Regions from separate parts of the Homo sapiens genome. Here region 1 is linked to region 2. Evidence: promoter capture Hi-C in human tissues and cell types (Jung and others, 2019). All regions are on one chromosome and are shown on one strand. The core of a region is centred on a gene start or on the middle of the fragment in contact, and the rest is flanking DNA. Distances in the headings are between cores, read along the strand shown. Region 1 overlaps C1orf21 (chromosome 1 open reading frame 21). Region 2 holds the start of C1orf21 (chromosome 1 open reading frame 21).

Region 1 (6,442 bases), core at 879-3,378, 66 kb after region 2:
ATGGACCATATAAAAATAATTGCCATGTCTGTTCTTTTAACCATTTTATATTTTTACCCAACTTTGGAACATTTTTTTGTTTTTGTTTTATTTTTTCGGGACAAGGTCTCACTCCATCTCCCAGACTGGAGTGCAACGGCACGATCATAGCTCACTGAAGCCCCGACCTCCTGGGCTCAAGTAACCCTCCTACCTCAGGTTCTCAGGTAGCTGGGACTGTAGGCATACACCATCATGCCTGGCTAATTTAATTTTTTTTTTTTTTTTTTTTTTTGGAGAGACAGGGTCTCACTGTGTTGCCCAGGCTTGTCTCGAACTCCTGGCCTCAAGTGATCCTCCCATCTCGGACTCTCAGAATGTTGGGATTACAAGCATGAGCTACCAGGCCCAATCTGGAACATTTTTCTAATCTCAGTCTGTCCTTCAAGTTGTAATAGTGTGTTTTGTAGTCCTGAAGAATTCTACACACAGACACGTTTCTCTAAAGACTTAGGCATGGTTGCCTGGAATGCTCAAAAACAAATGAGTTAAAAGCTAACAGCAAAATTTTCTCCCAAATGAGCATATTGCACATTGTAGGCCTCTTGTGCTCCAAGTTCACGAAAAGGGCATTAGCAAATTACAAGCATCTGAAAGCTCAAGTTTTCCGTGTTTATAAACTTAATGAGCAAATGCTCCATTGAGTGATTATATCCTTTATAAATAATTTTGTTTTTAAAAATAAATGTTAGTGTTAGTTTGTTGTTGGAAATGAATAAAAGCACTCCTCAGTCCCCAATTAATCCTTTGCTTTCCCTGGAAGGCAAAAAATTTTGTGACATTGAAATCACAAGTCCAAGCCAAAGCCGCCTCCTTAAATGAAATTTCCTTCTTAGTAGTGTGGAATGCTTTCCAAACTCCTAGACATGTCCATGTGCAATGTAGAAGTATTCCTAATGAGAATGTCACAAGAAGCTTTTGGTGGAGAGCTTATTTATTGTTTATAAGATAGAAGGTTTGATTGGCAGGAGAGCAATGAAAGATGATGGTATGGCCACCATGTCTCCTATGAAGGGCTTATTTCTTTTATAAAGAGTTTGGTTTCTAGAGTCCCCACAGGCTGAGTGCAAAGCACAATTTCTCTTCATTGCAGGTGTGAGTGTGAGAACAATTCTTTGTCAGTCCAAAGGGAGAATCACGTCATATCTTATAGGTAGGGTCACAAGTTGGAGGTGGGTAACTGGATGCTGTTGTATTTGTCAGAAACAGCAGAATTAAAGATTGCACCAGAAGTGAGCTCTTTGTTTTTCTGCTTATGAAATAAGGTCATATTTGTCCCATGTAACATGAGGCAAAGTGGCAAGAAGAGGGCGTAACCACCACGTTGATTGTTTGCATGTAGGAGGGCCACAATTTGTACTTGTTCACAGTACATCTGTGTGGTCAATGGCTCAGAACAAACTTTGATTGATCTTTTTATAGATAAATAATACAAAGAAGTTCCATGAATCTCTTTATATTCGTGGTATTACACAAAATTGTTGTAATTGTTCAGGTTATACAGGGTAGGAGCAAAATCAGTATCTTCCTTGTTAATTCTCTTTGCCTGTCCCCTCTTGAGCTCTCTCTGTCTTTCTTGTTTTAATATGACCGGCTCTGTTTGATGAGAGATTTTTAAGGTTTTTAAAAATTTTAGTAGCTTTGTTTCATCTCTATTGTTTATGCCTTAAAAGTTGTCCCTGGTATCATGAGGAGAAAACTTTGAGTCAGAAAGAAGCATAAAGCCTTTCATTGAAAGGATTGATGTGTTCCAGAGGCAATTGGTCTGAATTCAGCTAGGGACATTTCCCTCCTAAACAGTAAACTGACCAGATCTTTCTAGGAAGACCTTCGAGCTGGGAAGCGCACCATGAAATGCCTCTAAGTGATGCATACTACAGCCCACATCACTTTGGGGAGAGGAAGCCAGAGTTGTGCTCTAGCCAAGCTTATTTTAAAGAACTGAACCCCATTTCCTTCTGCAGAGATTCTCTGAGTGGAAGGGAGAATGCAATATTAACTAGCTGACTTTGCCTTCAGATATTTGCATCCTTGCGGTCCCAGGTAAATGCAGCATTGCCCCAGGTACAGGTTGAACAGAAAGCAGTGCTTCTGACGGTTCTGACGGTTCTGCTTTTGCTTTACAACTCTTTCTGTGCTTTTCATAAAATTTTAGTTTGAAGTACTGACGAATATACAATTTAGTGACACATTTTTGCTAGTGCTGCCTTTCTCAGGAAACGAATGTTTCATTTTCCTAAAGGAAGCTACTCAATGTAAACATTGATCTGCGTTTTAATGTTTTGTCTTTTTATTAGTTTGCTGAATATACTGATGTTAATATCCTCTCTTCTGTTCTGAAGCCTTGACTTTGCTTGATACTGCCACCTATTTTAGTTTGTAATCTCTGAAGATATCTAGACCAAAACTTTTTTTTTATTAGGTTATTTGTTTATAGCTGCTGTGTTTGACTTGTTCTTCAAGAAATAGCTGTTAGCTTTTATGTGTGAAACCTCAGAGGTGAAGGGACAGTGAGGGACAGATATTTCACAGCCTTTGTCTACTTGAGTTAGCATATAAGATTGAATGAAGCTACTGTCCCTACTTTGCCCAGAATGTGCTTTTGAATTATAGTTTCAAAAACGAACTCTGAAAGAGAAGAGAGATTATATTTACTCTTTCTTTCCAGCTGTTGGAGAGATTGATTGAAATTTATTTCTAAAATTGAAAGCAAGAAACAAAGCATTATATGGGCAGAAGGTTAATGGGAATTGTGTAGGGACCCTGAGTGCTTTGTGCTGAAGACATCACTGGCATCAGATCCATGAGGAAAACACTAACAAATACTTAGAGTCAATGGATTTCTTTTGTTTACTTTTGGAGAAGCAACTTTGTATGTTTAAAACTTAATCCTTATCCAGTTACTGAAACTGAGAATCAAAGGAAAGGATAGCAATATTTCAAGTTTTGCTATATTTTATATTTTTCAGTATGATATGGTTGAGTAGAATAGGAACTTGTTATTTTGTATGGATAATCGCTTATCAAGGTATATGTAAATAGAATCAGTAATTATAATTAAAGATACCTTGAAACCAAAGAAAATGACTGAGGTGAGTCTTAATGAATTTAGAGGTTTATTTTGCCAAAGTTGAGGAGATGCCTGGGCTAAAGGGACATAAGCCACAGTAGGACCTGTGGCCTGTACTTTTTCCAAAGAGGATTTTGAGGTCTTCAATATTGATATGGTTTGGTTCTGTGTCCCCACCAAATCTCATGTCAAACTGTGGTCCCTGATGTTGGAGGTGGGGCCTGGCAGGAGGTGATTGGATCATGGGGGTGGATTTCCATGAATGTTTTAGCACCATCCCCTGGTGCCGTTCTCGTGGTAGAGTTCTCACGAGATCTGGTTGTTTAAATCTATATGGCACCTCCCCTCTCTCTTGCTCCTGTTCCTGCCTTCTAGGACATGCTGACTCCCCCTTTGCCATCTACCATAGTTGTAAGCTTCCTGAGGCCTCCCTAGAAGGTGGGCATGTGCTAGCATCATGCTTCCTGTGCAGCCTGTGGAACTGTGAGCCAATTCAACCTCTTTTCTTTATAAATTACCCAGTCTCAGGTGTTTCTTTATAGCAGTGCTATATAGATATATATATAATAGAGAATGGATTAATACAAGTATTTAAAGGAGGAAAAGCAGGCTGTAAGAGAAAAGAGAAAGAAAGAGGGCAAGGTCACATTCTTGTGAGTCTTTGACTAGAGTTCATTGAATCCACATGTTGCATGTGAAAAGAAGGGGGCAGGGGGGACAATCAATTATGTATTTGTCTCAGGCTCAGTGAATCTGCATTTCTGATCAGTTCTGTCCAAAGTGAATAAACACTTTGGGCCATTCAGAAATGGTATAAGCATACTCAGGCCCATGTGTGGACTCACGTTGCAGTGCTGTTTTGCTGTTCCAACTATCAAAAACAAGTTCTCAAAGCCTGAGTCTCTTAAAAGTCAGAAGGAGCCTTACAGGTCTGATTCTGCCACAAATGTAAGGTGACCTGTGTTTAAACTTGTAAATAAAACCTATCAGAGCAACATTTCTGAAACTTCAGTGTGCATACAAATAACTAGGGATCACTTGGGATCTTCTTAGAATTGCAGATTCTGTGGTCTGGGCTAGGGCTGAGATTCTGCATTCCTAAAAAGATCCTAGGTGTATCCCAGTCCTGTTGGTCCCTAGGTTACACTTTGAGAAACAAAGTCTTAGAAAGTAGCTGAGAGACATCCAATCTCCTCCCATCCCCAAATCAGGGACTCTCCTTTTCTAATTCTCCCTTACAGGTGTTTTTTCCCTTTGGGGACAGCGTGAAAATACTGCCATCAATGATTACCTTTCTAGGATTGCTAATATTAAGATATTTCAAATAACCTTTCAGATAACCACTGAAAACTTCATTCCTTGTTCCCATCATAGCTCCAGCATCTAGAATGGCTCCTGGCACTACCAGGGCCTGAATAAATATCTGCTGAATGGGATCATGAATGGGTGAATATATAACATTCAGACTTTGGGATATTATGAATACTATTCATGTTTGGTTTTCACTGTTAAATTTTTGATAGCAACCCTAGAAACACATCAAGAAACTGTATAATTCTCTATGTATAGGTGTAGAGTGTTAAAGCCTTTGGAACGTTAAATTATTTTGAGCCCTGAGAGGAATGTGTCTATGTAGCTTGAGTCATGTGAGTATACAGTTGTAACTTCTGGTTTTTCCTGTAAATGAGTAGGAATGACTGAGTGGTGCCAGAGGTAAGACCCTCTCAGAACATTACTCCTCCTCACAGAATGTTAAAGCAGCCTTCCTTGGGATGTAGCAAGCTATATTAATCAAATCACTGCAATGTACATATTGGCCTTGTAGGGAAAATGTTGCCATCCTCCCAAAACTGTTTCTGCCTATATAAGTGAAACCTTAGCTTCTCTATTTTGAACCACTGACCCCATCCCTTTGGAGTCTGTGTTTTCTGTGTGCCTGTCCTCAAGCTTTGTGCTTGAATCAACTCTATGCTTAGTTATATTTTCTGAATCTCATTTTAAGTTTGACAAGAGTATATATACTGAAACCCGATTCTTCCTTGCTGTGGGTTGTCAGGTTGACATCTGATCTCTTTTCAGTGAGTGCTTCTTCCTTAAATTTAACTTCCTCTTTAATTAACCAAGTTAAGTAATTTCACTGTCATAGCTAACAGCAAAAAGGCAATATGAAATAGAAATTCGATGACCTTCAGAAAGGTTATGATATGTTTATATTCTTTTACGGTAAAGACAGTTCCACTGTTCCTCTTTAGAAACAGTTATGATAGCACAGGTGCCAGATTTGATATTTTTTCTTTAGAAACAGTTATGATAGCACAGGTGCCAGATTTGATATTTTTCATGTTAACTTTCACCAATACTCAACTAAAATCCTCCCTTCTCTGCACAGTTTTTCTTGACTCCATCCGATAGGCACACTTTGTAACTTTATCTCCTATGCTTGGCTTCATGCTAGTTATATCAATTACCTTATTATATTGCAGTTTCTTACTTGCTCATCTTTTACTCTGTGACAATCACTTCATTGAAGACAAAACCTTTCATATATGTATTCTTAGATGTCTCCAGGGGTGCTCAGTATAATGTTGGACCCACAGCAGCAGTATATGTTGACCGAAAAAAATGAATAAATGGTTTGAGCATTTAGAGAGTTATAAAACCAAACTAGGCAGAAGAATGTATCTGGGGCAGCTTTCTGGAGAAGGTGATGGTGATCACTTGGTTTGATACTATCTCTTGCCCTATAATTATGATAATAGTGCCCCCAGTATTTTAAAGTTGTAAATAAATGATCCATAAATGCTGTTGCTGTGTAATCAATAAGCCATGAAGATACTTACAGAATATTATAACTTAATTCTTAAAGGAAGGAACTTGTTGAGGACATAGAAGTGACTAGAATTGCATCCGTTATCTTGAAAAGTAAATTGGTATATTCAACAAATACTTACTGAGCAAAGATGAGTAAAACTGGTTACCTGCTTTCAAGGGGTTTGTGTTCTCCTGATGCGTAGACTAACGTCATCAAACAGACTGTGCTTAGCTCTGTCGTGGAGAAGCAAACAAAATGCTATGAGAACCTAAAGGGAAAAGACATGGATTCCAGCTGGAAGGACTCCAGGCTAACTAGTTGAATATAAATATATATATATATTTTTACATAGATTCTATTTCTTTCGGCTTCTTAAGCAGAATAAGTCTACCGCAGGCAATCTGACCTCTTTGTGATCATTCACATGAACACTGGTTTTGGGGCTCAGTCATTGAAAGCTGCTGTCTCTGTACTGCATTTTCCAGACTATTCTGGGCTTTTGCATCTGCTCCTGGCTCTTT
Region 2 (6,331 bases), core at 3,047-5,546:
AGACAACCAGTGTTAGCTGTGATTGCATGGAGCAAATGGAAAGAAAGCACATTTCAGAGTAGTCTTCAGCTTAGGGTCACTTATTTTTGAATGTCTCTGCCAAAGCTACTTTTGAACTTGATTATTCAGAAAAATTAACTTTATGGGAAAACCTTTAAAAAATAAACCACATAAAATGAATTCATTTAGATTTAGATGAGAAGTTATAGGAGAGTGGTGTGTTGCTTTTACTATCTTTTAAACAATCATATATTTTCCTTGACAATCAATGATAAAGGGAACCTATTGTCTTGGTGGGTTCAGGCTGCTGTAACGAAACACCATAGACTGCACGGTTTAAACAAAAGATATTCATTTCTCACAGGTCTGGAGGCTTAAAGTCCAAGATCGTGATGCCAGCCTGCTCAGGTTCTTGGTAGAACCCCTCTTCCTGGCTTAGATGGCTGTCTTCTTGCTGTGTTCTCATATGCGGGTGGGAGGGAACAAGCTGTCTGGCTTTTCTTATCAATGCACTAATCCTATCATGAGGACCCCACTCTCAAATTGTCAAACTCCAATTGCCTCCTAAAGACCTCACATTCTAATACCAACACATTGAGGGTTAGGGCTTCAAACATTCAGTTTGGCCTACAAAAGCCCATGGAAGGGCATATCATATTTAAAAGAAAAAGAAGAAAGAAATAATTCAAACCATTATGTTATGTACAGTCCTACAGATGCAAGTCTTTATCAGCTAAAGCTTTAGGACTAAGAGAAAATTGATAATGAGAGTGGTGCCTTTGAAGATTAAAATGTAACTTTTCTGGGCAAAAAGAATATTAAATTTTTGGAAAATCATATTTAGAGTGTTTGAAGATATGGAATCCAGAGATTCTGGTGGTGTGGAAGGGTGATGCAACCAGGGGGAAAAAAATCATGTTCTTCATTCTTTTTATGTAAATATGCTTATAGTCATCTTACTAATTATAAATAGCTACAGAGATTATTCTGTGATAAAATGTCTAGTAGATTTAGCTTGTGCACACCAAGCAGATTTGCAATTTGTGGCCACTCCTGTTGCACAGTTAGTGAGTTGGTGTGCATACCAATGCCCGATGTGCCTCTCCAGCACCTTAGTGGCCAACCTGTCTGTCCCCTCCCCTCCCATTTTGTTCTTCTCTCCCTCCTTTCCTTCTGCAGCCCCTATAGAAGTCCCCAGTCCCACTGCCCCTGCTGTGGCCAGGTGCAGGGAAGTGTGTGTTGGTGGTGATGGGAGTCTCCCTCTCACCTCTTCTAAATTTGTGGGGGAGGGGAGCAGAGGTGTCCCGGGGATCCCAGGTAAAATGAGGAACATTTCACATTGAAGCAATGTTTATCAAAGCAGTTAATTTCTATAGAAATTCCAGCACCAGAGAGAGTAGGTTTACTCAAAAGCAAATGGGGCTTAGACCTTCATTTACATGAGCCCAATCAAGGGGTTTTTGTACTTTTGTCTTTCTTACATTGAAGGTAGCTCCCCAAATTGTTTCACGACCTTCATTTACATTAGCCTCTCCTAAGGGGTTTTAGTACTTTTGTCTTTTTTAATCTTGAAGGTGGCTCCCCAAATTTTAAGTGCTTCAAGTCCCACAAAATCTGGATTGTCTCTGGTCAGCATGGTCATTTAATTGTGGGATTCCTTCCATGGGCTTTTGTAGGCTATCCTGAGAACCTTACTACTGTATAAAATGTTGCTTCTGTGGAGCAGTTTCTATGAGAAACAAACAACACTTACAACACATATACAATCTTTTCTTGTATTGGTAAATTGTCTGATCTCTAACTAGGTACTTAATAAATGTTTGTTGATTGAATGATGATGAAATAAATGAAGGGAAAACAGACAAACTTGAGGCACTTATTGAATGCTTTTCTCTAGATGGTGGAATTATGATTTTCATTTTCTTTGTACTTAGCTTTTTTCAAATGTTGAAAATTTCCACAATGGACCTGTATTATCTTGAGTAATCTAAACCTAGCTTTAAAAGTTCGTAGTATAGATGTTCTTTCATCTACACATGTATGAAGTGCTTCTTCTGTGGCCTTCGGTTAGTTCTAAGGATATCAAGCCAAGCAAACCCCATAGCCTTGCCCTCAAGAAATCTACAGTACCAAGCACTGTCTGAGCCCTGAAGGGGTACACAGGTCAACATCACAGAGCTCTGTCTATTCAGGGTGGTCTATGTAGATGAGAGAAGGAAAAAGGAGGGGGAAGAACAAAACTTATTGTGCTCAAAGATCCTTTTATATGGATGTACACACACACACACACACACACACACACACACACACACACCCCTCAGTTATGTATTTATTTCATTTTACCACAGGCAAAAGTTTCAGGCAGGGCGTAAAAACCCAAGGGAAGAGTGGACTACATTTGAATAAATCCATCAGCTGTGTCCATTCTCCTCCCTAACTTTTCAGAAGGAATGGAAAGAGAATAAAATTCTACCAAATTTGAGTTTAAAATAATCAAGTCTGAAACAATAGCTTCTATTTATTGAGTTCTCACCCATGTGTCAGGCACTATGCAAAGTGTTTTACATGCATTGCCACCTCGTTTTATTTTCTTTTTACTTTCACAAGCTTATGAGGTAGGAACGATCATTATCAATGCCTTTACAGATGAGGAAAGAAAGAAGAAATGAAACAAGTCACCAGTGGTGAAAGGGATGGGGCTGGCTGCCCCTGATTGAAATCTCAATTTATCTACCCTCCCTTCTTAACCGCTCCTTTCCAAGAGGCTAGACTACAAAAAATTTGGGCTCCAAGAAGTATGAACCAGAATATGGATATTTTGTAAAAATGGAATGTAAGTTGAGGTTCCTGAACAATGTGATGTTAGGCAGGGTGCGGTGGAATTGGCCTGTAGTCCCAGCTACTTGGGAGGCTGAGATGGGGAAGATCCCTTGAGGAGGATCTCTTGGGTTCAGGAGTTCGAATCCAGCCTTGGCAGCAGACCCCATCCCTGAAAACAATAAAAATTAAAACAACAACAGTGGGATACTAGTCTTTTAATTTGAAAAAAAAAGGGGTGGAGAAAGGGAAAACCAGTTTTCAAAAAAGGCCAATTTCCTAGACATTAGTGGTTGATTACTAACTCATTTCATTAAACTAAATTATGAATTGGCTTTTCTCGTCAGTGTCACCACTCTGATGGCGTTCTTTTCCATTTTCCATCTTCACCCTGGCCGAATGTGGGAAATGATCTGGTTTGTGCATAATCCGCGAGGCCCAGGGAGGATCTTTTGCCCCTATTGTTTTCTTGGGTGTTCTCACTCTGGGGGCCTGACATTCCTCGCGTGTCTAAGGCAATGAGGGAGCAGTGAAGCGCGGGGAAGCCGCACAAAAGACATCCAAAGGCTATCAATGGAAAAAGATCAATTAGGTGCACACAAGAAACACCCAATATGCCAGGGAAGAGAAAAATACCCTTTTCCAGAGGGTGGGAAATTGATTGAGCTTCTGTGAGGGTCCACAAAGAACTGGACGGATGCAGTGGTGGATGGCGATCTCTCTGGACCACTCCGGACGCGCCCAGCAGACGCAGCCTACGCCTTTAGGTCCTAGGAGGCTGAGAAGGGTGGGGAGAGGGGGGCAGCACGATCTTGTGTCTTTCCTCCCCGTGCCGCCTCTACCGAATCGCGGATGCTTCATTAATCTTGCAGGCGCCGCAGCTCGGGTCAGTATGGAGGCGGATCGGTGGCAGAGCCCGGGCCTCTGGGCTGCGCCCGCCCGTTCAGCCTGGCCCGGGAGGGGAGCGGCCGCGCGGTGGGCCAAAGACGCCCGGCCTTCCCTCCGTCTGCTTCCAGCAGGCACAGCCGGGAGGCTGGGCTCAGGGGCTGACCCGAATCTCCCCTAGAGCTGGGCCCACCCGGCTGCCCCCCGAGCAGCCTCGCCGCTCCCACGCCACCGCCCAAGTGACAGGCCCGGGAAGGCCGGACGGGACGCAGTCTTCCCGCCGGGGTCTTCCCTCCGGCTGGCCGGCCGCTGCAGGGCGCGCGCGCACACACGTACACACACACACACACCTGCCCACACACACACACACACACACACACACACACTGCCGCCTCCTTCCCGCCCCGCAGCCCTAGCAGCCCCCAACCCGCTCCCCAGCGCGCTGCGCCCCGGCGGCCTCCGCAGGCCCCGCCCCGGGGAGGAGAGCCAGGCGCGCGCGGGAGCTAGGCTCGGGGAGGGGCCGGCGGTGGGGGAGTGTCTGCTGCCCCCGCCCCTCGAGTGAGTGACTGAGCGAGGAGCTCCCCTCCCTCGCTCGCTCCTCGCAAGCTCCCGCTCGCTCCCTGCCCACTCCCGGGGGGACGTTCCGTGCCGCGGCCGCCGCGGCCGCTGCTTCTTTCACACTTTAGTTGGGAGCTGCGCGCCGCGCTCAGTTACTGGAGAGCTGGCCGCGCGCCGCCGCCTCCCGCACGCTTGCACGCGGGCCCGGCTTCGGGGTTTTGGGTTCTTACTCCAAGCGGCGGGGAGGAGGGGGAGCCCCGGACACACTGTGGGGAGGAGGAGGAAGAAGAGGAGGAGGGAGGAAGAAAAAAGACGAGGAGGACAGGGGCGGGGGGCGGGAGGCTTGCCACCTTCAGCCCCCCCGCGAACGCCCAAGGTAAGTGTGAGCCATTGCCTGCTCTGGGGCGGGGGGAGCTGGCGGTGCAGCCCGCCCCGGCTCGGCTACCCGGGCATCCCCGGGTGGGCAGGGAGGGAGGCCTGCGGGGTGTCTGCCGCACGGAAGGGATGGGAGCCGCGGTCGTGGCGCTGCCTGCGCGGGGCCCGGGCCGGGGCTGCTGCTGGTGCGGGGCTGGCGGGGTTGCTGCCAGGGACGGAAGCTGGGGTGGGGGAGCCGCGAGGGGCGTCTGCCGGCCTGGGCGGAGGGGCTGGGATGTGGTCGGGGCTGCTGACGACTTTCGTCACATCGAGGCCTGGGTGGCTGGTGTTAGACACCCCTCCCTTCCCACCCGCACCCTGCCGCCCTCAGCCTTCCTGCTCTCCTCTAGCTTTGCATGTAGCCACCGTACTTTGCAAGCCAGAGCTTGAAAGGAAAAACACAATTTAGGATCCTTTGCTAAGTATCCAAGTCCCTTCTCTCGCTCCGACTGATTGATGTGTTTGTGTGGGTGGTTTGACCCCCGGGATTTCTGAAGTTTTGACCTTTTTGGGGTGGCTCGTTTCGTTGCATCTGTTTGCCCACCTCGGTGTATTTATTATTCGTGCCCATGCGAGGCAGCCAGAGGGTGCTTGGTTATTGTACACGAAACAGATTTCACTCTCCTCTGCAGGCAGTTCGCGAAGTGCCGCCGCCGCGGCTGCCTTTGGTCTGCTGGTTAATGTCCTTTCCCTATCATCCACCCTGCTCCCTCCCTCTACGGAGGGTTAGTTTTTGTTTTTGTTTTTGTTTTTTCCTTTCCACTTACTGTTTGTGTGAGAGAAGTCCTGGGCTTAAGGGCTCTCAGCACTCGTTCATTTCTCTTCTAAAGCTCTGAATGGCTCAGGCATGTCGGTAAAATTTGGGGTGGTCCTCTTTGCTCCAAGAGTTGCATGGCCAAAGATAAAAATATGCACACATAAACACGCATTAATTCTGAGAGACGGCAAGCAGTTTGAGAGAGAAATAATTTGTTTTCAATAGGAAGTCGGTGACCTATGGGATCTCTTCCATTGCCGGTGGGTTAGGAAAATTGTTTTAAAATAGATAGTGCTTGTGTTGTCCGTGGCTGGAAGACAGCCATAGTTCAGTTACTGAAGCAATTCTGAAAGTGATACACCCTGGGCACCCAGAACCTCAGTAAAGACACACGTAGTCTGACTCAGATGTTAGGAAGGGGACTGACACACCATAGATTCCATGGAGTATTTTTTTCTTTCTTTTCTTTTTTTTTTTTGTAGGAGACTGTCCAGACCGTTTGGGGAAATGACAAGTTCATTACACAGACAGATGTAATGAACACCTCCCTATTCAAGGGGATGGGTTCAGCTTCTGCCTAATAGGAATAACCTTTTGATTTGATAGAATTGGAATGTACCAGGATAGAAACAAACATAGGTGGAGTGGGCCTGAGCTACTTCAGCACTGTTGTGGGGAGAAGGTGATGTTTCTGAAGGGTCTTTTAAGTTCAAGATGCTGAATTTGGAGTTTTCCCCCCTTTTTCATATTGTCTAGAGCTGGATTGTAGGATCAATAGAACATGTTCCATGTTGGCTGTTTGGAAATGTAATTGTCAGACATGGAAATTAATTTGGATTGGATCACCTATTTTTGTTTTGCTACTTACAAAGTAGGAAGTACCAGTGATAGGACAACGGA

Evidence for each region. Contacts are between HindIII fragments. The study calls those that stand out against the background at their distance.
Region 1: a fragment that was not itself captured here is called in contact with the fragment with the promoter of C1orf21 in region 2 in 2 of the 25 tissues and cell types used here (psoas muscle and spleen).

Annotation. Positions count from the first base shown.
Region 1 is chr1:184,451,212-184,457,653 of GRCh38, forward strand. The region is part of intron 1 of C1orf21 (chromosome 1 open reading frame 21); the gene reads left to right. Among named protein-coding and RNA genes, the nearest start is that of C1orf21, 67 kb to the left of the region's middle. The HindIII fragment of the contact is 4,324 bases long and covers 1-4,290 here.
Region 2 is chr1:184,382,733-184,389,063 of GRCh38, forward strand. It overlaps C1orf21 (chromosome 1 open reading frame 21), which reads left to right and starts at 4,297. Exons shown (of 6, transcript NM_030806.4): 1 at 4,297-4,636. It overlaps C1orf21-DT (C1orf21 divergent transcript), which reads right to left and starts at 3,972. Exons shown (of 1, transcript NR_172919.1): 1 at 3,021-3,972. RefSeq lists silencers at 3,783-3,842, 3,933-4,042, 4,073-4,332. The HindIII fragment of the contact is 5,612 bases long and covers 1,674-6,331 here.